Regions from separate parts of the Homo sapiens genome. Here regions 1, 3 and 4 are each linked to region 2. Evidence: promoter capture Hi-C in human tissues and cell types (Jung and others, 2019). All regions are on one chromosome and are shown on one strand. The core of a region is centred on a gene start or on the middle of the fragment in contact, and the rest is flanking DNA. Distances in the headings are between cores, read along the strand shown. Region 1 overlaps DDX17 (DEAD-box helicase 17). Region 2 holds the start of TMEM184B (transmembrane protein 184B). Region 3 holds the start of POLR2F-AS1 (POLR2F antisense RNA 1). Region 4 holds the start of KCNJ4 (potassium inwardly rectifying channel subfamily J member 4).

The links. Contacts are between HindIII fragments. The study calls those that stand out against the background at their distance.
Region 1: a fragment that was not itself captured here is called in contact with the fragment with the promoter of TMEM184B in region 2 in 1 of the 25 tissues and cell types used here (dorsolateral prefrontal cortex).
Region 3: a contact is called between a fragment that was not itself captured here and the fragment with the promoter of TMEM184B in region 2, in 1 of the 25 tissues and cell types used here (pancreas).
Region 4: the fragment with the promoter of KCNJ4 here is called in contact with the fragment with the promoter of TMEM184B in region 2 in 2 of the 25 tissues and cell types used here (dorsolateral prefrontal cortex and neural progenitor cells).

The regions. Positions count from the first base shown.
Region 1 is chr22:38,490,647-38,496,385 of GRCh38, reverse strand. It overlaps DDX17 (DEAD-box helicase 17), which reads left to right. Exons shown (of 13, transcript NM_006386.5): 6 at 449-590; 7 at 1,340-1,500; 8 at 1,584-1,756; 9 at 2,255-2,365; 10 at 2,615-2,676; 11 at 4,271-4,330. Among named protein-coding and RNA genes, the nearest start is that of DDX17, 13 kb to the left of the region's middle. The HindIII fragment of the contact is 4,436 bases long and covers 1,223-5,658 here.
Region 2 is chr22:38,270,548-38,275,782 of GRCh38, reverse strand. It overlaps TMEM184B (transmembrane protein 184B), which reads left to right and starts at 2,773. Exons shown (of 9, transcript NM_012264.5): 1 at 2,773-2,899. RefSeq lists a silencer at 2,621-3,250 and an enhancer at 3,313-4,022. The HindIII fragment of the contact is 18,337 bases long and covers 1-5,235 here.
Region 3 is chr22:38,029,951-38,034,964 of GRCh38, reverse strand. It overlaps POLR2F-AS1 (POLR2F antisense RNA 1), which reads left to right and starts at 737. Exons shown (of 2, transcript NR_199596.1): 1 at 737-800; 2 at 1,810-2,793. It also overlaps a transcript of POLR2F not described here. RefSeq lists enhancers at 72-161, 457-1,732, 2,744-3,943. The HindIII fragment of the contact is 4,209 bases long and covers 871-5,014 here.
Region 4 is chr22:38,451,877-38,457,506 of GRCh38, reverse strand. KCNJ4 (potassium inwardly rectifying channel subfamily J member 4) reads left to right here and starts at 2,308. Exons shown (of 2, transcript NM_152868.3): 1 at 2,308-2,527. LOC124905116 (a long non-coding RNA gene) reads left to right here. Exons shown (of 2, transcript XR_007068096.1): 2 at 1-185. RefSeq lists enhancers at 4,412-5,030, 5,031-5,630. The HindIII fragment of the contact is 19,664 bases long and covers 1-5,630 here.

The sequences.
Region 1 (5,739 bases), core at 2,191-4,690, 220 kb before region 2:
ATAGAGTGAGACTTTGTCTCAGAAAACAAAACAAATCCAAATTTTGAGGACCAATATGATCCTCAAAGTAAATGCTTGCTGGAGCATTTTGGTTTTGGGGGTTTAGGATGCTCAACCTGTAAATGAGAGTTGTATACTTAAAACCAGGTAATACAATCTATATCTCCACTTAAACAGTATATATAAACTATAATGATTGATAATGTGTCATAGTAAAAGTGACGAGGATACCAGTATCATTCCAAATGCTAAACATGAAGTTCTAATAATTTTTTTCTATATTCCATTGTGCTAATATTCCCCACTTCTGATCTTCACCCCATCACTTTTAATGTGCTAGATTAGACAGCAAAGAATTAAATTAGCTTTTTGTATTTTGTTTCTTCTTTTTTTTTTTTTTTTTTTTAAACCTTGGATGAGGTCTCAAGTGTCTTTTTGTTGGTTTCAGTGTCTAGTTCTGGCTCCTACCAGAGAGCTTGCCCAGCAAGTACAGCAGGTGGCCGATGACTATGGCAAATGTTCTAGATTGAAGAGTACTTGTATTTATGGAGGTGCTCCTAAAGGTCCCCAGATTCGAGACTTGGAAAGAGGTAATAATATATAGTGTAAAAGAATTGTTAGTTTATCTTACTTTACCAATTCCTGTGGAGGAAATTGGAGAAAAAAAGTGGGTTCTTGTGATAAACTCAGAATTTCAGCAGCTTAGAAATTCTCAGATGTGACTAAAACAGCTATTTTGAGAGAGAAGGTTCAGCATGGCTGGAAACTTTGTGAGGATTTGGTGATTGTACATAAGTCCTGACATGGTTTTGCGGTTACTTTGTTAAAATTTAGCTTCTCTGGGCCAGTGCGGTGGCTCATGCCTGTAATCCCAGCACTTTGGGAGGCCGAGGTGGGCGGATCACGAGGTCCAGAGATTGGGACCATCCTGGCTAACATGGTGAAACCCCGTCTCTACTAAAAATACGAAAAATTAGCCAGGCGTGGTGGCAGGTGCCTGCAGTCCCAGCTACTGGGGAGGCTGAGGCAGGAGAATGGCGTGAACCTGGGAGTCGGAGCTTGCAGTGAGCCGAGATCGTGCCACTGCATTCCAGTCTGGGTGACAGAGCAAGACTCCATCTCAAAAAAAAAAAAAAAAATAGCTTCTCTGCAGCATTGAGTACAGCCACCAGGGCTGCTGCTGCTGCATTTTTGTAGAGTCGGGGTCTTGCTATGTTGACCAGGCTGGTTGTGAACTGGCCTCAAGCGATCTTCCCGCCTCCTCTTCCCAAAGTGCTAGAACACAGCTGTGAGCCACTGCACCTAGTCGATTGGCTCGATCATTGGTTTTGTTTTACAGGTGTTGAGATCTGCATAGCCACTCCTGGACGTCTGATAGATTTCCTGGAGTCAGGAAAGACAAATCTTCGCCGATGTACTTACCTTGTATTGGACGAAGCTGACAGAATGCTTGATATGGGGTTTGAACCCCAGATCCGTAAAATTGTTGACCAAATCAGGGTGTGTAAAGCTAATAATAAGCAGTCTTTATGCCATTTGTCCAAGTTCCTTAGCCTGAAAGAAAGCCTTTCCTTTTTTGATAGCCTGATAGGCAGACACTGATGTGGAGTGCAACCTGGCCAAAAGAAGTAAGACAGCTTGCAGAGGATTTCCTTCGTGATTACACCCAGATCAACGTAGGCAATCTGGAGTTGAGTGCCAACCACAACATCCTCCAGATAGTGGATGTCTGCATGGAAAGTGAAAAAGACCACAAGTATGAAAGATATTTTACTCTGATTTGATAATGCTGATAAACCTTTTCTAATAACCCTCCAAAATTAGTACTGTAGAAACCAGTATATTTTGAGGCCTGAGAACATTAAAAGCATTGCTAGGTTTCTGATAATCCATCATCATATCATTTGTCAGAGCATTATGGTTAAATGCAAGGATTCTGAATTCTTGAGTTTGAAATTTAGCTCTGCTGATTACAAGCTGTATAATTTTGCACAATTTTGTGTCTTGGTGCTGCAGTTTCTTCATCTGTGAAATGGGAGTAATACCACTTACATGAGACTTGCTGTGAGGATGGTATGAGTTAGTATTTCTTGAGCACATAGCAGAACCTGACTCAGTACTCTAATAGTTATTAAAAATTTTAAAAGCGTAATGTGCAAAGAAAGTACTGTAGCCTTGGGAGTTGATATTGCAGACATAATCGTCCACATAATAACTTTCTGTGTGATGACTGCATTGTTGGTCATGTTTTCAGGTTGATCCAACTAATGGAAGAAATAATGGCTGAAAAGGAAAACAAAACAATAATATTTGTGGAGACAAAGAGACGCTGTGATGATCTGACTCGAAGGATGCGCAGAGATGGGTGAGTATAGCACCAAGGCAATTAACCTCTGGTTTTATAGTTAACTGGAAATTTCTAAATTGGTATTCCAAATGTTGTGTAATATTTCAATAATGCCTATCCATGCAGTTTGCTCTTTTAATGAGCACAGTCATCTATTCATGAAGCCTGACAAACCTTACAAAAATTGCATGATAGCATTTGGCTTTAAAGTTCGATTTTCTCCACTTTAAAAGATTTTTAAAATATTGGTCACTTTTCTTCTGATAGTTGGCCAGCTATGTGTATCCATGGAGACAAGAGTCAACCAGAAAGAGATTGGGTACTTAATGGTAAGTTTAAAACTAAGCATTTTCTGTTGATTCCCCACCCCCTGCCCATAAGTGAATGTTCATGCTCTATTTCAGGGATAGGCAAACTTTCTGTAAAGGGCCACATAGTAAGTATGCTTGGCTTTGTAAACCAAATGGTGGTCTCTGTTATAGCCACTCAGCACTGCTGTTTTAGGACAAAAGCTGTAGGCTGTAGATAATATGTAAAGAAGTGGCCTGGACTGGGCACCGTTGGTGGCTCATGCCTATAATCCTAACACTTTGGGAGGCTGAGGCGCGTGGATCACCTAGGCCCAGGAGTTCAAGACCGGTCTGGGCAACATAGTGAAATCCTGTCTCTAAAAGAAAAACAAAACAAAACAAAACTTAGCCAAGCTTGGTGGTGCACGCCTGTAACCCCAGCGACTCCGGAGATTGAGGTGGGAGGATTGCTTGAGTCTAGGAGACAGGTTGGAGTGAGCCAAGATCGTGCCACTCCAGCCTGGGTGACAGGGTGGGACCCTGTCTCAAAGAGATAAACGTGGCTATGTTCAGACAATATTTATTTGCAAAAATAGGCGTTGTGCCAGATTTGGCCCAAAGGCCAGTTTGTCTTACCCCTGTTGTATAGTTGATTGAATTACTGAGGGTACTTTTAGCGTGTGCTCATGGTTCTTTAAGGGCCACGATGCTGGCTCTTTAAACTTTTTCACAACTTTCACCACCCTCCCTTTATTAATAAAGTCTTCAATTTTTTCCTTCTGATTATAAAAATATAACTACCGTTTGGGGAGAATTAAACTGTTACTGAAATATTTAAAGAAAAATGTTTCTTAATGAGTCATATTTTAGCATATTTCCTTTCAGTCCTTTTTTTCAGGACTACTCTTAAGGGAAGCCATTGAGAAATGGAAGAGGCCATATTTTGTTTAAGAAATAAAATGTGGCCGGACACAGTGGCTCACGCCTGTAATCCCAGCACTTTGGGAGGCTGAGGTGGGCGGATCACCTGAGGTTGGGAGTTCGAGACCAGCCTGACCAACATGGAGAAACCCCGTCTCTACTAAAAATACAAAATTAGCCGGGCATGGTGGCATATGCCTGTAATCCCAGCTATTTGGGAGACTGAGGCAGGAGAATCGCTTGAACCCGGGAGGTGGAGGTTGCGGTGAGCTGAGATTGCGCCACTGCACTCCAGCCTCGGCAATAAGAGCGAAACTCCATCTCAAAAAAAAGAAAGAAAAATAAATAATATGCATACCTTTTGGGGGGAAATTCAGTTCTTTTCATTCTACATCTTTTGAACTTGTTTCCTACTGACCCCCAACTTTTGGTTGTGTCTCATTTGGGAAATAACTTTAAGGGGAAAAAAATCTAGCTCATATTAATTATGTAACAAATTGCCACACTCTCTTAACGGTATTTCATTATTAGTAGAGGTAACTATTGTGCTGCTGAATATGAGTGTAATAAAGATTTTCAAAAGAATCACTGTCAGTCATTACAAGAGCTTGGGATTTTCTGGCACCATTATTTGAAATTTTAACATGGTTATGTAAACAGATCAGATAGCAAGGAATGCTTATTTGATGATGATTATTGTTTGTTTTTACAGAGTTCCGTTCTGGAAAGGCACCCATCCTTATTGCTACAGATGTAGCCTCCCGTGGGCTAGGTTTGTATAGATAGGTGTCTCTGTCAATGGTATATGTATCTTTTGGTTTAAAGATTCGTCATTTCAAATTCAGACTTCAAGTTTAGAAAGTTGTATATACATGTGGTTAGATAAATATTTGAAAGAAAAAAATACAAAGCGTGATTCTCCCCATTCCCTGCCCCCCCCACAATTTTTTTTAACTTTGGTTTCCCCCACCCCCCTTTTATTTTCAAAGTCTCTTCCTGCTCCTAACAAACAGGCTTTGGTCTGCAGCAAGGCCTAGGCATGACTATTCAAACAGAGGGAGAGGAGACAGACAGCTGAATGGCTCAGCTTCTCTCTGGTGGTGGTTTCTGGCTGGATAGAATAAGCCTGACGAAACCTAGCTATTGTAAGCTAGTTTCTTCAGTTATTCTTTTCCCTATCCCTGTCTAAGCTAGATATATACAGAGAGGTCCAGTTTTATGAATGCTTATTAGATGGAATTTTATAAGTCTAATGCAGTATCAGAATAGCAAATATGTGTATTGCCCAGTTTAATTTACTGAGGTCAAATTATCATGGGCACTTGGCTATCCCCTCCTACCCATGCACTTATCTGTAGGTGTGTTATCAACTGATGATTTTCTGGAGTTTTTGACCCATTACCATTTAAGATATACAGAGAATTTTATGGTAGTTTAGCCCACTATTCTGAGCTAAACAGGTCTAACTCAGAACTTCTATATTTTAAAAAAAAAGATTATTTGTATTACAAGGAAATCCTTAAATTATTGACAGGTATTTAATTTGCCCAGTAAGGTGAGAAGTACCATATTATTCCCTTATACTATATAATATAAAGAGAACAGGTATTCAAACTGGAATACAAAAGTAATGAAGCCTTTTTATGCATTGCACTCATCATTCCCTCCTTCAGAGGTGGTGACCTGCAGCCATGATGGAAAGTTCTCTCTGCCCCTCTGCCCTCTGAGGTCATGTCTGGATCTGTGCCATTAGAACTTGGGCCTGTTGGGAGAGGAGGCGGAGGCCTGAAAGCAGTTTACATAAAGCTTTCAGTAATGGTTGGTTTTTAAACAGGCTTGCTATGTGCTGGTAGCTTCTTTGTGCATCTTGCCTAGACAATTAAAAATATTTGCTCCATGTCCCCTTGCATTTCTAAACCAAATTAATTGGCTACCATTAGAATAACTTAGACTCTTCATCCCACCCCCACTCATCCAAGTGAGGGGAGAGGGAAGGTACCCGAGTCTGTTTCTTGTTACTCAACATCAGTGCTTGTTTTGGGCCCCTTTGTTTGCTGCCTTGTAAAAAATCAAAAGAGGGAGAAAACCCACCAAAATGGCAGAATTCTGACCAATGTCCTACAAGATCCTGGAAAGTGAAGGCTTCTACCTCATAGACAGGGGTGCAATTTTCAGCTGAGT
Region 2 (5,235 bases), core at 1,524-4,023:
GGCCAGGCACACAGTGGCTCACACCCGTAATCTCAGCACTTTGAGTGGTCTAGACGGGCAATTGCTTTGAGCCCAGGAGTTTGAGGCCAGCCCTGGCAACATAGCGAAACCCCATCTCTACAAAAAAAAAAAAAAAAAAAAAAAAATACAAAAATTAGCCTGGTATGGTGGCACATGCCTATAATCCCAGCTAACCAGGAGGCTGAGGTGGGAGGATCACTTGAGCCTGAGTGGCGGATGTTGCAGTGACCTGAGATTGTGCCACTGCACTCCAGCCTGGGTGACAGAGACTGTCTCAAAAACAAAAAAACAAAACCGAAAAATTTTGTGTTCTACTAGAAGAAGACACACAGGGAAACAGGCAAACTATATAATATGATAGAAATGAAGTGACAGGGTGGCTCACGCCTGTAATCCCAGCACTTTGGGAGGCTGAGGCAGGCGGATCACGAAGTCAGGAGATCGAGACCATCCTGGCTAACGCGGTGAAACCCCGTCTCTACTAAAAATACAAAAAATTAGCCAGGCATGGTGGTGGGCGCCTGTAGTCCCAGCTACTCTGAGGCTGAGGCAGGAGAATGGCATGAACCCGGGAGGCGGAGCTTGCAGTGAGCCGAGATAGCACCATTGCACTCCAGCCTGGGTGACAGAGCGAGACTCCGCTTCAAAAAAAAAAAGAAAGAAAGAAAGAAATGAAGTGACAGGGAAAGTAGGGCACGGTAAAGGGAAATACAGAGTGCATGTGAGGGGTCTGGTAGTTTTACTAGGGGTGCTCACAGCAGGCCTCACTAAGTGGAGGACATTCGAGCAAACCCTTGAAGAAGGTGATGGAGGAGCCATTCAGGTATCTGGGGAAACAGCGATCGCAGCAGAGGGAACAGCTAGTGCAGGGGGCTCGGGGCTGAGTGTGCTCAGCTTGTTCTAGGAACAGCAAGGGATCAGTGTGGAGGGAAAGGGTAAGAGATGAATGAGATCAGGAATCCCCAGGAGAGTAGAATGTCAGATCAAGTGTTTGTAAGGACTTGTAAGGCTTTTACTTAGAGCGAAACAGTGAGCCAATGGAGGGTTTTGAGCAAAAAAGTACCATGTTTTGACTTCGATTTTATTTTATTTTTTGAGACAGATTCTCATTTTGTCACCCAGGTTGGTGTGCATTGGCACGATCTTGGCTCACCACAACCCAACCTCCGCCTCCCGGGTTCAAGCAATTCTCATGCCTCCAGAGTAGCTGGGACTACAGGCATGTACCACCACACCCAGCTAATTTTTGTATTTTTAGCAGAGACAAGGTTTCACCATATTGGCCAGGCTGGTCTGTAACTCCTGGCCTTAAATGAGCCACCCGACCTCACAAAGTGCTGGGATTACAGGCGTGAGCCACCGTGCCCGGCAGATTTTAAAAGAATCTTGGCTGGGCGTGGTGGCTCACGCCTGTAATCCCAGCACTTTGGGAGGCCGAGGCAGGCGGATCACAAGGTCAGGAGATCAAGACCATCCTGGCTAACGCGGTGAAACCCCGTCTCTACTAAAAATACAAAAAATTAGCTGGGCATGGTGGCGGGCGCCTGTAGTCCCAGCTACTCGGGAGGCTGAGGCAGGAGAATGGCGTGAACCCGGGAGGCGGAGCTTGCAGTGAGCCGAGATCGCGCCACTGCACTCCAGCCTGGGCAACTTTGAGACAAAGAGCGAGACTTTGTCTCAAAAAGAAAAAAGAGAAAAAAAAAAAAGGATCTCCCTCACCCCTGAATTGATAGAATGGATCAGAGGGCAAGGCTGGAACAAGGGAGAGGGGTTAGCAGAACTCTGCAATAATCCTGTGCAAATACTGGACCAGGGTGGTAGCACTGGAGGAGGAGTGGCAGACATCTGAGTCTAGATCTATTTTGCAGGTAGAGCCAACAGGATCTCCTGCCTGCCTTATTGGGTAGCGGGCAGAAGGGGGGCATTCATTCACAGCTGACTCCGAGTTCTGGCCTGGGGACTGGAAGGATGGAATTGTCAACAGCTGATGGAGGCAAAGCTGAGAGGGAGCAGGTTTTTGTGTGTGGAAGTGGGGTTGGCTCAGCTCAGACACGCTGACTTTGAGATGCCTGCTGGAGCTCCAAGGAAGAGGTGTTGGGTAGACAGTTCAGGCGAGGAGTCTGGAGACATAAATACATTTGGGGATCTTGAGCACATCAATGCCAGAACTTAATTGCATTTTATCTTGTTCAGTTAACCTAGGTGATGTCTGGACCGGCAAACAGAAATGGACTAGGCGGCTTGAACCCTATCTGAAGACTTTTGCTAGTTCGGCAGCCTAGAGCCAGACGGGGCAAGAAAGAATCGCTGCTAAGCGGAGTGGGAAAAAAAGGCCTCTTTCAGTGCTTTGCCATTTCATCTGGCCTAATTGCACACAACACTCGGTCCACGTTCATTCCACAATTCCACACGCATCCTTCACTCAACAAATAGCCATTGTATTTCGTTTCATCTTCAAAACAGGCTCAAATGGAGGAAATTAGGGTTAAAAGAAGTGAAGCACCAGCGAGGGTCAGGGGCAGAGATCGCAGCCCAGAAAGCTCTCGCGGTTGGGGGCCGGTCGTAGCTGGTTTTGTGAGTGGCAAGAGAACCCGGGTCGCGCCCCAACCCGCGGGGCGGCGGGCTGGGGTTCGGGGCGGCGGGCTGGGGTTCGGGGCGCGGCCCCTTTAAGGCCCAGGCAGTGATCTCAGCCGCGTCCGCCGCCCCGCCCTCCCCGGCGGCGAGCCCAGAGCGCATGCGCGCCGCGGCTGCACTCCACTGGGCCCGGGACGCGCCGGCGGCGGCGGAGACTCCGGGGCTGCGGCGCCGCCCGCCCCGCCCGCAGAGTCCGGCTGCCGCGCATCGTCCGCAGACGCCGCCACCGCCATGGGCTCCTGAGGTATCCCGCCTGGCCGGCCTCGCCCGGGAGCCCCAAGGGGGAGCTGCGACTCCCGAGCGCGGGGGGCTGCTTGTTTCGGAGAGGCCCGCGCGAGGGACGCCCGGCTTCGGCCGCCGGCTCCCGGGCGGGGAGGGCACTACGGAGGCCGGTGCGGCCGCGGAGGGAGGGGGCATCCGTCTCCCCACCCGTGCCTCCTCTCCGCCCCGCGAGGTCGCCCGTGGGTGTGCCCGCTCCCTTTCCACGCCAACGTGGCGGGGGCAGCTCCTGGAGTGTAATCGGACCTGTCCGGGGGGCGGCCCCGGGAGAGGGAGGCGGATGGACCAAGGCGCTTTGCAAGAGGGATTGTGTGCTCCCGGGTGGGTGTGCTGGCGACTGGCACGGCCGAGTGAGTGGGGGAGGCGTCCGTGCCCTGTGCGGGTGGCAGTGACCTGGGAGGGTGGTCGGCGGGGGGCTTTCGGGGCTGCGTCGTGAGTGGAGGGTGTACACGCCCGCCACACAGGTCCGCAGGTTTGGAAGGGGATCGACTGGGACCTGGGGCTCGAAAGATGTTTGCCCCCAAAGGGACCGTGGAGACTGGTTTTGGGTGTCTGTATCCTTCCCGTGAATTGTACATTTCCTCCTGGGCACACCCTTGGTACCTCGCTTGGATCCACTTACCTCCAGTGCTGGGTGGCTCCAGGCCAAGGCAAGGCAGTTATGCTGGGGGTTGGGCATGGATTCCCAATACATATCCCCTCTGGAGGTGTTGTATAAGGCCAGACGTTTTACTCCTCCCTCCTTTCCAGGGCATTTTGGGGCAAAGCAGGTATTTGCATGCCTGATACCTGTGGTGAGGTGAAGGCCATGTATTATTTATCTGACTGCTGGTGCTTTTGTAAGGAAAGAAGCAGCAATCTGTGCCCTGGAGGCCCTGCGCTGCAGAGTCAGCCAGGCAAACAAGCTCACCTGCACCTGCAGAGGCAGCGCAGGTCTCAGAGGTGTGACTTCGTTGACAGGTTATGCCTACAGTGTCCCTTTCCATCTACCTATTTAGCTTCCTTGGTAGAACCCCTAGGCTCTGCACCTCTGAACCTTGCCTAGGGTGCTGTGCGTATCAGAGTTGGGACCTGGGACGCTGGGGTGGGAGAGCCCCAGCAGCCAGGTATGTGTGCCCACCTGGACAGAAACATTTGATGCCCAAGCCATCAAGGAGCTCTCAAGCATGGGGGAATCAGATTTGGAAACAGGTGATCACGATGATGTGAAAAATACCAAACAAAGGAGTAGAAGGAGTACAGAGGCAGGTTCAGTTCCCGGGGAGGGGGATCGTGGCCGCAGGAAAGACTCCCTCATAAGGAGACGGTTGAGCTGAAGCCTGAAGGATGACTGACGTTCATCTGAGGCTTTTCTGCTTTCCACATATATTTTCCTGTGTAATTTGCACAGCAGCTGTGTGAGTAAGGAACAGTTGTCCCTATTTGCAGATGCGGTAAACTGAGGCCCAGAGGGAATTCATGACGTTCTTCTCCACGATACGTGGCAAGCCTGGATGGAATCATCCTTTAACCAGGACCTCTCTCTTGCTGCCAGATCTTGTCTTGCAACTTACTGAGCATCTACTATGTGCCAGGCACTATGCTGGGGCATAGCGGTCTGATGATCAATGGGACCTGGTGCCTGCCTTCTAGGGGCTCCCAGTGCTGGGAAGATGGACACTGATTTAGTGACCCCAATCTGGATACGAGGCTCCAATAGCTAATGTGGGTGGAGAAGGCGCTGTGAATTCCCCCAAAGCATTTGTGCAGTCGTTGGGATTCTGGATGTCTTATTTGTTGCACCCACGGTGGTGGTGGGTTATTCAAAGAGCCCCTTCTGAATTTCTCCAACCAAGTAGAAAGAAGAGCTTCGAGGCAGAAGGGTGAATGAGCCACTTGTCCTAGTTCTTTCCTATTGGCCGAGTTCTGTGAGCAGGGGCTTCTGTCCGGAGGCTGTTTGCTCCCTCTCTGTCTTAGAGGTTTTGCTCCTGGTCTCTGGCTGGCCTGCCCAGTCCCTCACCCTGAGAAGGGCTCAGAGCTATTTCCAGTCCCTGCTGTGCTCATTTTCTCTCTGTAAATTCCCTGGAGTGGAAACAGCCCCGGCAAGGCAGGGTACAGCTTTTTATTGTTTTGAAAACGAGTCACAGCTCTGGGCCTTTAGACTGGGGATCTGGTGTGGGAGTTCTGGAAGGCCAATAGCTGGGCCCCTGGGAGAGCTCTGTGTGGGGTCTGCACCAGGCCCTGCAGCCCCGGGTAGTAAGCACTCACCGAAGACCATGCTGCCCTGCACTGTGCTGGGGCAGCCCTCTAAAAGGTGGTTGG
Region 3 (5,014 bases), core at 1,726-4,225, 240 kb after region 2:
AGCCCCCTGGCTAGCAAGGTGGGGTGGGGAGGCTGGGGTGGGATCCTGGAAAGCCCCAGCTCGTCCTAGGCCACGGCCCCAGGTCTCACCTCCCACCACTCCCAGCCCTGGGCCGAAAGCTCCCAACTGGTTTCTCCTCTGGCCTCTGCTCAAGCCCTGCCCCCACCTCCAGTGCGCTCTGTGTCTCTGCTGGCTGCTTCTGACTCATTGTTCCGAGCTGCGCAGGCACAACCCCCTCCAGAAAGCCCAGGCTGACAGGTCTCCCCTGGGATTAGTTCATTCTGTCCCAAGGGGAAGCTGCTATTATTATCCCCATTTTACAGAGGGGGACATTGAGGCTCAGAGAGGGGTCCAGGGCTGCACGGCTGGTGTCAGCGCTGGGATTTCAACTCCAAGTGGCCTGGCTCTCCTTTGAGCTCTTGGCTGCCTCCGCACCCCGCCCCATGCTGGGCACTTCGGTCTCCTTAGAGCTGGTGCAGGAGGTCGCTGGTTTTGCATTATCCCCTCCCCCGCTTCTTGGAGGAGGAAGCTGGAGCCCAGAGAAGGGTTGGGACCTGCCTGCCGCCACGTGGCCAGGAAGTGGCCGAGCAGATTCTGAAGCCAGGAGTGGCTGACCCCACTCCTCTGTGACAGGCCTGGGGAAGCTGCCAGGCCTGGGACGCAGGGGTGCATGGAAGGGAAGAGGCTGTGGCCCGAGGCCCAGTGAGAGCCCAGTGCAGCCCTGGAAGGCGGAAAAGACAACTAGTGGGGATGAGGAGCAGCGTGGACAGGCCCAAGGAGCTGGGGGACAGATGGTGGTGGTGAGGCAGCAAGGCTGAAACGGTGGGAGTAGAGGAAGCAGAAGGGGAGGCGGAAGGAGCTGACAAGGGGAGTCGGGAGGACACCAAGGGGCCATGCCAAGCCCTAGGTTTTGGGGCACTCCTGCCCTGTCCGGGTTCGGCCCCAGCCACTTGACCCCTGGGATGGTGCAGGGAATAGGGGTCAGCGGCGGTCACAACCTCTCTTGACTCCCAGAATCAAAGGGGTTGGGGCCCCAAGTGAGCAGCAAACTTAGAGTCAGCATGGGTCATGAGGAGTCGCCCAGTGCCCTCGTCCACGTCACACCCTCTCCCAGCGAGCACAGGACAGAAGCCTCGAGGCCCTTCCACGGGCACTGTCGTCAGTCAGTGGAGTCACATGGGGGGCAGGCAGCGGGGCCGTGGCGCCTTCCGGTGGCTTCCCCACATCCACCCCTCCCCTCAGGATCCTGCCACCGCTCTTGGAAAACAACTGAGGAAATCAAGTGGAAACACAAATCCGCCACCCAGTCCCTCCCGCTCCGCCGGGGCCAGATCCCATCCCCCAACCCCCACTGCACTGGGGGAGCAGGCTTGGCCTCAGAGGCTGTGCCAGCCCAGCAGGGCTTGCCTTGGCGAGGCTCTGTGGGCACTGGTGATTGGTCCTGGAGTTCCCAGCAGCTGGGCCTGTCTGTCGCCCCATCTGGTCCTACAGAACCAGCCCTACCCCAGAGGGACTGGGTAACCAGGCTTGAACCCCGCTGCAACCTCTAGACTCTGGGATCTGGGGCCAGGGAAATTCCAGCCCTGGCTCTACCAGAGCCTAGCAGGCCGCCCTGGACAAGCGCTTTCTCTCTGTAGGTCTCAAGAGTCCTCATCTGTAAAATGGGAGAGATAAGCCATGCCCCGTCCACCTGAAAAGGCTGGCGAAGAAAGACAGGGCAACTAGGGAGGACAGCTCTGTGCAAAATCTCAAGATTTTGTCCACTTCCTTTTTTTTTTAATTTTCTTTTTTCTTTCTTTTTTTTTTAAGACAGGGTCTCACTCTGGGGCCCAGGCTGGAGTGCGGTATCATGATCACAACTCACTGCAGCCTCAACCTCCTGGGCTCAAAGATGGCTCACAGATGGCTGCTTTGATGTTTACAAGGAGGTGTTGCGTCACAGGTTGGGAGGTCATGAATTATGTCATGCTCCATGTGGGGGACATGAATTATGTCATGCTCCGTGTGGGGGACATGAATTATGGACGGCAGTAAGGGATTCCAGAGGCAGCTCACCAGTGGCCCACGGAGCCCTTCTCAGCTTGGCCTCCCCACCTCCCACCGTGGCCACCCCTCCTGCCCCTGCAGGCCTTCATAACTGCGCATCCAGGCAGCTTCCTTGCTGAAGCACCCTCTCCGCAGAACTCCTGCTCATTCCTCAAGACCCAGCTCGACTGTCTGTCCTCTGTGACACGTCCTGATTCCAGGCAGCATGAGGGGCGTCCGCCACCCCACGTTGGTTCCTACAGCACACTGTGTCAGTGTGGCATCATCCATCCATGTCCCCAATCAGGGTGTGGACAGGGCCTATGCCTCAAGCATCCTGGTTTCCCTGCCCCATGCCCAGTGTTGGGCCTAAGGAATAGCAGAGCTCAGTGGACTATGTGCCTGACTGTGGGCAGAGACCCCGGTCTCTCCTGGGCACACTCAGCCTCGAGGCAGCAGCTCGGCTCCTGACTGATGGATTCAGGGGCAGGTGATGGGTGTGAAGCAGTTTCCCCTGTCAGATACCCGCTGTGCATTTTTGGGAGGACCGTAACAGTGGAACTCCAGAGCTCTCCTGGGAAGATGGCTGTGGTGGAAGGTGAGAGGACACTGGCCAGTTAGAAAATGGATAAAAGCAGGCCAGGTGTGGTGCAGTGGTTCACATCTGTAACCCTGGCACTTTGGGAGGCCAAGGTGAGAGAATTGCTTGAGATCAGGAGTTCAAGACCAGCCTGGGCAACAGAGTGAGACCCTGTCTCTACAAAAAAATTAAAAATTAGCTGGGTGTGGTGGCTTGTGCCTAGGCTTCCAGCTATTTGGAAGGCTGAAGTGGGAGGATCACTTAAGCCCAGGAGGTTGAGGCTGCAGTGAGCCAAGATCGCGCCATTGTACTCCAACCTGGGCCACGGAGCAAGACCCTGTCTCAAAAAAAAAGTAAAAGAAAAAAAAGAAACTGGACAAAATCTCCAGACTTCAGACCAAAACAGAGGCCAAGACAGAGGGGACTAGAATGCTGGGGAGGGGACTACGGATGTGTTTGGAAGGAAAAATTGTCATGGCCGATGACTAGCCATAGGGGATGAAGGGGATGGATGAGTCAAAAATGACTCCGAAGCTTCATGCCTGGGTCACTGGAGAACAGTGGGGCCGTTGATGGGGCAGGGAAGCGGGGAGGGGTTGGTCTGGGGGCAGCATGGTGACGCGGGTTTGAGACATGGACTCACAGCACTTTCAGGCTGGAAGCAACCTTCGGAGGTCACCAGGGTCACACGTGAGGAAGTGGAAGCTGAGTGAGGAGCTGCCACTCAGCCGGGACACCTGTGACATCAGGCGCCTGGGACAGGGTGTTGGTGCTGGTGGGGACCTGGACAGCGGCACAGGGTGTGAAGTCCGTGCCTGCCCAGGTCCTGCACTGGGCTCTGGGGACCTGGTGGTGAATCAGACCCAGTCCCCACACTTAGGGGCTCACTGTTCCATGGAGGAGACAGACATGACTGTAATTACTACCTGGGCTAAGAGGGTGGTGTGGTGAGGACTCAGAGGGCCAAGTCTACCTTGTGGGGGGACGTGGGTAGGAGAAGTAGCCAAGGAACGAGGGCATCCTTGTTGTCAGAAGTAGGCTCCTCCGTGCCAAGAACATCTCATTTAATCCTTGCAACCATCCTGCAGGCTCTGTGGTATTACTGTCCGCATTTTACAGATGAGTTTGAAAAAGATGAAGCAGATTGTCCAGGGCCCTGCAGATGGAATGACACCCAAACTCTCGCTCTTAACCCCTGCGTCTTGGAAGAGGTGTGCTGGAGCTGAGGCCTGACAGAGTAGTAGGAGTTTCCCAAGGGACAAGGAGGGAGGGGGCGACACCGACACTTGCCAAGACCCGTCTTTCCATTGGCAGGGTCTGAAGTGCTGGTGGTCTGTAGCCTGCTTCCTTACCTCTTGCCCAGGGCCTCTCACAGCTCTTCCAGCCCTCGTCCTGTCCCAGGGCCCCTCATTTCACAGACCCTGCCTTTCCCACCCCCTACTGGTGACAGCCGACTGATCTGATGGATTTGTCCAGCAACTGAGCTGGGGGTGGGGTGGGAGAGGGCCTGTTCCTGATCCCCGGGGAACCACTGACCACGCTCCCCAGGCCTTCCCAGCACAACCCTGCCCCCACCCACACCTCCCCACTGCATGACCTCTTCTTATCCCGGGAGTGACCCTGCAAAGCAAGTCATCCCAGAGAAGTGAGGATGTGCCTGAATCACCCAGTGCATAAGCAGCTGAGCTAAGTCTCAGACCCACAGGCCTGGGGTCTCAGACCATGGCGGTCCCCTGGGCTTGGACAAACCACAGAGTACTTTTCTATCCTCGGGCTCCGGTTTGCAGGGCACCATGGGAATGATCGGGGAGAAGGAGGGTTGAGCACTAGCAGTCTTGGGCAAATACAGTTTATAACCCAGGGTGTGGCAGTGCGCTGGAGTCAGCGCACACTGGCTCCCGAGAGCCAACTGTGAAAGTCTCTGGAATCGAAGCCAGTTGATATTACCTTGGAAGCTTTGAGCCTGCCCTGATGGGACTTTTTCCACTATGAAAATTGGCAGTCTACCTCTGTGTCTCCCACCTCCACAAACAGAGCTGGTTGTGAAGCATATTTACCAGCACATGACTGTCCAGAGGGCCCGACTCCTGGCTCCCCAGGGGGCTTGTGGGTTCTCTCAAGCTCCCAGCCCTATCTGGGGATCTTCGGGGAGTCGTTCTTGCTCAAAATCCATTGATATCTCCCACTTGCCACCAATAAAAGTCCAGACTCCTCCCCTGGGTTTTCCATCCCCAGCTTCAGGCCCAGGCAATCTTCCCAGCTGCATCTTAACTGTTCCCTTGCTGCCCCCACGCTTGAGCCAAACAAGAACAGATGATGCTTGTGGAAAAGGCCCTTGCTTCCTTAGTTTCCTGCTGCTGCAACAGCCTCACCTTGGCTCACGCTATTCCCTTTTCCCAAAATGCCTTT
Region 4 (5,630 bases), core at 1,059-3,558, 180 kb before region 2:
ACGTGCGTTCTGGAGGTCTGCACAGTCGGAGAGAGCCGTGAGAAAGGATGGCCACATTTATTGAGCGCCTACCATGATCTGTGTATTTCTTGTGCATCCACCTCACTTAATCTACCCCTTGGGAATGGAGGACGTTAGGGTCCTCAATTTACAGACAGATTAAATAAAAACTTGTTCAAGGTCAAGTAGCTCCTAGGTGCTTTTGAGCCTAGGTTAGCCTGACTCCTCATCCCACTAAGCAAGAACCATACTTGTGCCCCGCCCAGGGGCTGGTATGTGGTGGGTGCCTAGTGCTGGTTGAATGAATGAGTGGGTGATAAATGACTTCTGCTGGGGTCATCAGGAGGCCTTCTCAAGGAAGTGGCACTGAGGCTGGGCTTGGGGAACAGCAGGAATTCTCTGGGCAAAAAAGGTGGAAGGATATCTTAGTGAGGAGGAACAGTGCGTGCAGGCAGAGAGGTGTGGAGGCCTGTGGCGTGTTCTGGAATCTGTGGAATCAGGGTGTACCTGTGGATTTATGGGATGTGGGATGCCGGATAAGGTGGGGCCTGACTATACCACACTGAGGAGTTGGGACTGAATCCTTTTGAGTAGGGAGAGCCCACGAGGAAGGGAAACACTTGTGGTGGTTTGTGTGTTGCTGTTCTTATGCTGACATCCTCGAGGCTCAGGAGAGCCAGAGGGGATTTCAGATTTCATCAGTTCTCCACCTGGCTTTGGGGTGCCTCGGTCTCTCCCTCTCTGTAATGGGGCTAGTCGGTGATGGCCAGACTCCCAGGGAAGTTTTGCTGGCTGTCTAACTGCAGGTGTTCTCTCGTCCTACCACCCTGGAAGGAGGAGCACTTTCCCTCCTGTCTCCTCGGAGGGCTAGAGTGACGTGGCAGGATGGTCAGGATGTAGCTGGCTAGACAGGTGCTGTGGGTGCTGGGGGTTCCCTGACACCCCAGAGTGTGGGGCCCAGGCCTGACAGCTTGGGGTAATGGAGAGCGACAGAGAATAAGAGACTAGGGTTTGGCCTGGCTTTGTCATCTCTGGGTGACCTTGGCCGAGTTTCTGACCCTCTCTGGTACCCAGTCTCGCCATCTGTAAAATGGGGCAGTGGTGACTGAGTGATCGCGAGGGTCCCTCCAATAGGGCCCCCTCAGACTCCCAGAGTGAGGTGCTTCGGGTCCTTGACCGGCGGTACTTTGGGAGAGTACGAGGACCGCTAAGGAGAGGGGCGGACTCCGTGGGACCCCAGAGGGACCAGCTCCCACCCACCCCCCTTCCCGGCTCGGAGGAACCCTCTCCACCTGCCCCCTTTTGGGGGGGGGGCACAAAACCCGGGAGCGGATCCAGGAACGGGTTCTGGGAGGAGCGCTCCTGGGGCGAGGAGGAAAACCCGGGCAGGATCCAGGGCAGGAGCGGGGCCAGCAGCCCCCCGCCCCAGCCCCTGCTCCGCGCCGCGGGCCCCGCGGGAGGGGGCTTGAGGCCGGGTTAGGCCGAGGGGCGGGCAGGGCGGGGTCCCGCGGGCAGCCGGGGCTCCCGGGCTGGGGGGCGCGCGGCCTCCGCAGTGGGGCGCGGGTCACGTGTGAGGAGGGGCGAAAGTCTCGCAAAGCGGGGCGGCGTGCCGCGAGTTGGGAGTTCTCGGCGCGCCGCGGGCGGCGGGAGCTCGGGCTCCCGGGCGAGCCGGGGACGCGGCCAAGGCGGGGGCCGGGGTCCGAGACAGAGGGGGCCGCACGGAGAGTGGGAGGGGGAGAGACAGAGAAGGACAGGGGCCGCGAGGGAGACGGACAGAGACGCGCAGGGGAGAGAGGCAGCGCGGGCAGAGGGAGGCGGGGGGAGGCCGGCGGGCGACCGCGACGGAGACGGAGACCCCGCGGGCAGAGGGCGAGCGGGGCCGCAGGAGGCAGGGAGGCCGGGAGAGGGACCGGGACGCGAGCGCGGCGGAGACCCCGGCGGCAGGAGAGAGACGCGAGAGCGGTCGGGGAGGTGGCGACAGAGCCCGGCCGGCGGGGGCGGGGAGGGCGACCCCAGGCCGGGAGGCCGAGGGGTCGCGGGGCCGGGGCCGAGCGCAGCGGGGCCGGGAGTGGAGCGCAGGGCCGGGGGCAGAGCGCGCGAGCAGGAGCGGGTGACAGCGAGGGAGCTGGGCGCAGCGGGGGACGGCGGCGGGGAGGGCGCCTGCAGCGGGGGTGGGGGGCGCGGGCGGCGGGGCGCCCCGGGCCCCCGGACCCCCGCGCTGTGAGCCCGGCCGGGCCCGACGATGCTGACGCCGAGGCGGCGCCGAGGGCGCGGCGCGGGGCAGCGCTGAAAGTTGGGCGGCCCGCGGGGAGCGGCGCGGGACGGCCGGGACGCGCGGAGACCCCAAGACCCACGCGCAGACCGAGCGGCAGCCGGGGAGGGGAGCGCGGGCCGGCCGGCCGAGTTCGCGGGCAGGGGGCGCCGGGACTCCCCTTTCCGCGCCCGGGACGCCGCCCGCCGGATCGCGCCTTGGGATGTAGCGCCCGCTCGCCGCCTCCCGGACTCTCGTCGGACCCTCCGCCCAGCGGTAAGCCGCGCTCGCCCACCCCGGGCGCTGTCCGTCAGTTTGTCCCGCCGCGTGCGTGTCTGTGTGTCCCGGGCCCGCCGCTCCGGCCCCGCCCGCTCCGCACCTGATCCGGAGCCGGGTCCCGGCTGCCCGGCGCCGCGCGCGCGGTCCCGTGACTCCCCGGGAGCGGGCGGGCTCCACGGGCGGGCTCTGTCCGTCTGTCCGTCTGGGAGCGTCGCGGTCTGGGTTGTGGCCTGGAAAGGGGGAGAGAGGTGGGTGGAAGGGGTCTTGACCTCCTGCCCCAGCCATGACCTTTCCCTGCCTCCACCCACCCCAGTTGTCATGCCGGGGAGCTTCAAGGCAGGTGACTTGTGGCAAGGTGGGGGATGCCGCCTTTCCGCCTCCCCAGCTGCATCCTCGTTGCAAATGGCCCTGTGATCTGAAGAACGAAATCTCACTTCTCATGTTTTGAGCACCTACTTGGCGCCACACGACCCCAGGGCGCAGGGGCAGGGATTGGTAGAGGAGGCACTGCACGTTCACAGTGATAGACACAGGCTGGGGAGGGAGGCAGAGGCTGCTTTTTCCTCCGTGTGTAGGGAGCACCCCAAGGCAAGAGAGGTCTCAATGAGCCTCCCGCAGGGAGAACTTCCCCTGCAACCTGCCAAATGTCCCCCCACCAGTGTCAGCCTCCCTGCCCCCTACCCACATTTCTGCCCCCAGTGTCCCTGCTTCAGGATGGACAGGATGCAGGGAGTTGGGAGGTGGCAAGCTGGGTGGGGTGGAGCGGCGGGCTAGAGGCAGGGCAGCCTGGCCAGCTGACAGAGCAGGGCCTCAAGAGCAGTAGAATGTTCAGCAGCAGGTTTGGGGGAAGTGGGGAACTCAGGGAGGGAGGCCCAGAGAAGGGTTGGAGCCGTGTGTGTGTGTGTTCTCCCCCACATCCAGTCCCATGACCTCCATGGCTTCAGGCCTTTTGGGGGCAGTTAGCAGGACTTTAGGGGCCCAAGAGCCTCACTGTGGCCCTGGCTTGGCCTGTGCTGAGGGGAGCAAAAGGTGGACCAGGGCAGCTGGGGTAAGAGATGGGTGCAGCATGGTGGGAACAGAGACTGTTGGCCACTGAACTGACCCATATCCCAACTGGAGTTGGAAGGGCTGAGCCTAGAACATTCCACTCCATTCTCACTGGGAGGAGGGACTCTTTCTGGGGTGTTCCACACTGGGCAGTGGGTCTCATATGTCCTCCATTCAGCCTCCCAGAAATTAGCTCAGGTGGCTGGGAGAGCAGCCCCCTGGGCTGGTCACTCTCCTCCCAACCGTCATCTTCCACATCTGTGGCATGGGGACGTCACTCCCTGCCCCAGTGACCTCCAAGGCGGGCCCTGGGCTCAATGAGCAGTGGGCTGTTCACAGGCTGGGGAAAGCACTGGGGAGATGGGAGTAAAGACTCACTTTACCTTAAGAGAGATGAACAGCTAGTGGGTGGAGGTGGGCGTGGGGCAGTGGGAATATGGCGGAAATAGCTGACGAAGGAGGAGTGTCCAGGATTAGAGGGGGAATCTGGGGTACAATTCCTCATGGCCCTTTGGGTTATCCTTGAAAAGAAAGCTCTTCTCTCAGAAAATCCTCTGGAGTGGCTGTGACCAGGCAGAGCTGGTTGAGTTTCTGCTGGGTGACCTTGGGTGGGTGGCTTGACCTCTCTGAACCTCAGTTTCTTCAACTGGAGAATAGGTATGATGATACTGACTTCATCAGGGTGTTGAGCAGTTTCCAGACTGTGTCAGGTCTGTGAAAGCCGCGTGCGCCAGCCTGGAGCATAGTAGGTTCGTAGACATTTGCGAAAGAGAGAATGAAGTAGCTCTGGGAGATGCTGTGAGAAGATGTCTTAGCTTAGGATAAGAAGGAAGGGGAGGAGGAACAGTGTAGGCTTACAGGGCGGGCTGGTTCTTAATGTGGATCTGGGGGAGGCGGGGGCGAGTGCTAAGGGGGGTGTGAGGAGGAGGGGGCCCCTCTGCGGGGACCACTGAGTCACGAGGACATGTAAGCGACATGACAACCGGCAACATGGTAACCAGGAAACTAGCGGCGGTGGGAAACAGAGCTGGAGCAGTGTGGGGTGGGGGTGGCGGGTAGGCCTGGCAGTGCCGGGCTCAAGGGGTCCGGGGAGAAGCCAGGCTGGCCCCTCAGAGTGAGGAGGGGAGGCCCCAGGGCCAGGCTAGCTGGGGAAGAGATGGGGGCCCTGAGGGGAGGGAGGGGAGGCACCTCGGGGCTGTAGGGCAGGGGGCTCCTCCTGCACCACCCCAGGCTCCTCTCTGCTCCTCCACATCTCCACTTTTCATGCCTCTCCCCCTAGGATGCCAAATTTGGCTCACGCAATCTGTCGTCTCTCTTCTGAGATTGGCACCGGGACGAAAGCCGAGTGCATTACATCACCACCGCCGCCGCTCCCCCTGCACGAGGAGAGCAGTAGGGGAGGGCCAGAGGGCCGGGGGCAAGTGGCCAGCCCTCAACTTTCTTTCCTGTCTTCCTGCTCACTCTTCCCATCTCAGCCCTAGATGCTCGGGGGCTTCTGGGGGCAGCGGCTAGAGGCAGGACGTGGGCTCCAGTCTTGGGGAGATCCCAGGACCAGGGCAGAAAGTCAGGTCATGTTGCCAGCCCCCTGTCTGGGTGGAGCCTGGGGGCAGGGAGGCTTGGTTCAGGACCCTGGTCTGTCAGTGCCTTGCTCTGTGACCTTGGGCAGCCCCTTGCCTCATGTGGAGTCCACATCTGTATAGAGAACGGCTGGCCACTTAAGATCTTGGCGATTCTCCTGAAAGAAGGTGCCCTTAAGTTCTGCGGCTCTCCTGGGCCCAGAGGAGGGAGCCCTGGATTTCAAATCACCCTCTGTGACCTTGAGCAATTGGCTTCAATGCCTCATGCCTCCATCTCCCCACCTGTAAAATGGGGATGACAGAATCCTCAAAGGCAACAGCTATGAAAGCAGGAGACAGGAGTAGAGATAAGGCCTCTGACTCTGAAACCATAGACACTCAGGGGCCCGTGGATCCAGCATGCTGGGCAGGGGTTGGACAGGGTAGAGTGGGAGGGTGCCTGGATTCAGACAGAAGGTTTGGAGCTTAAATCACTG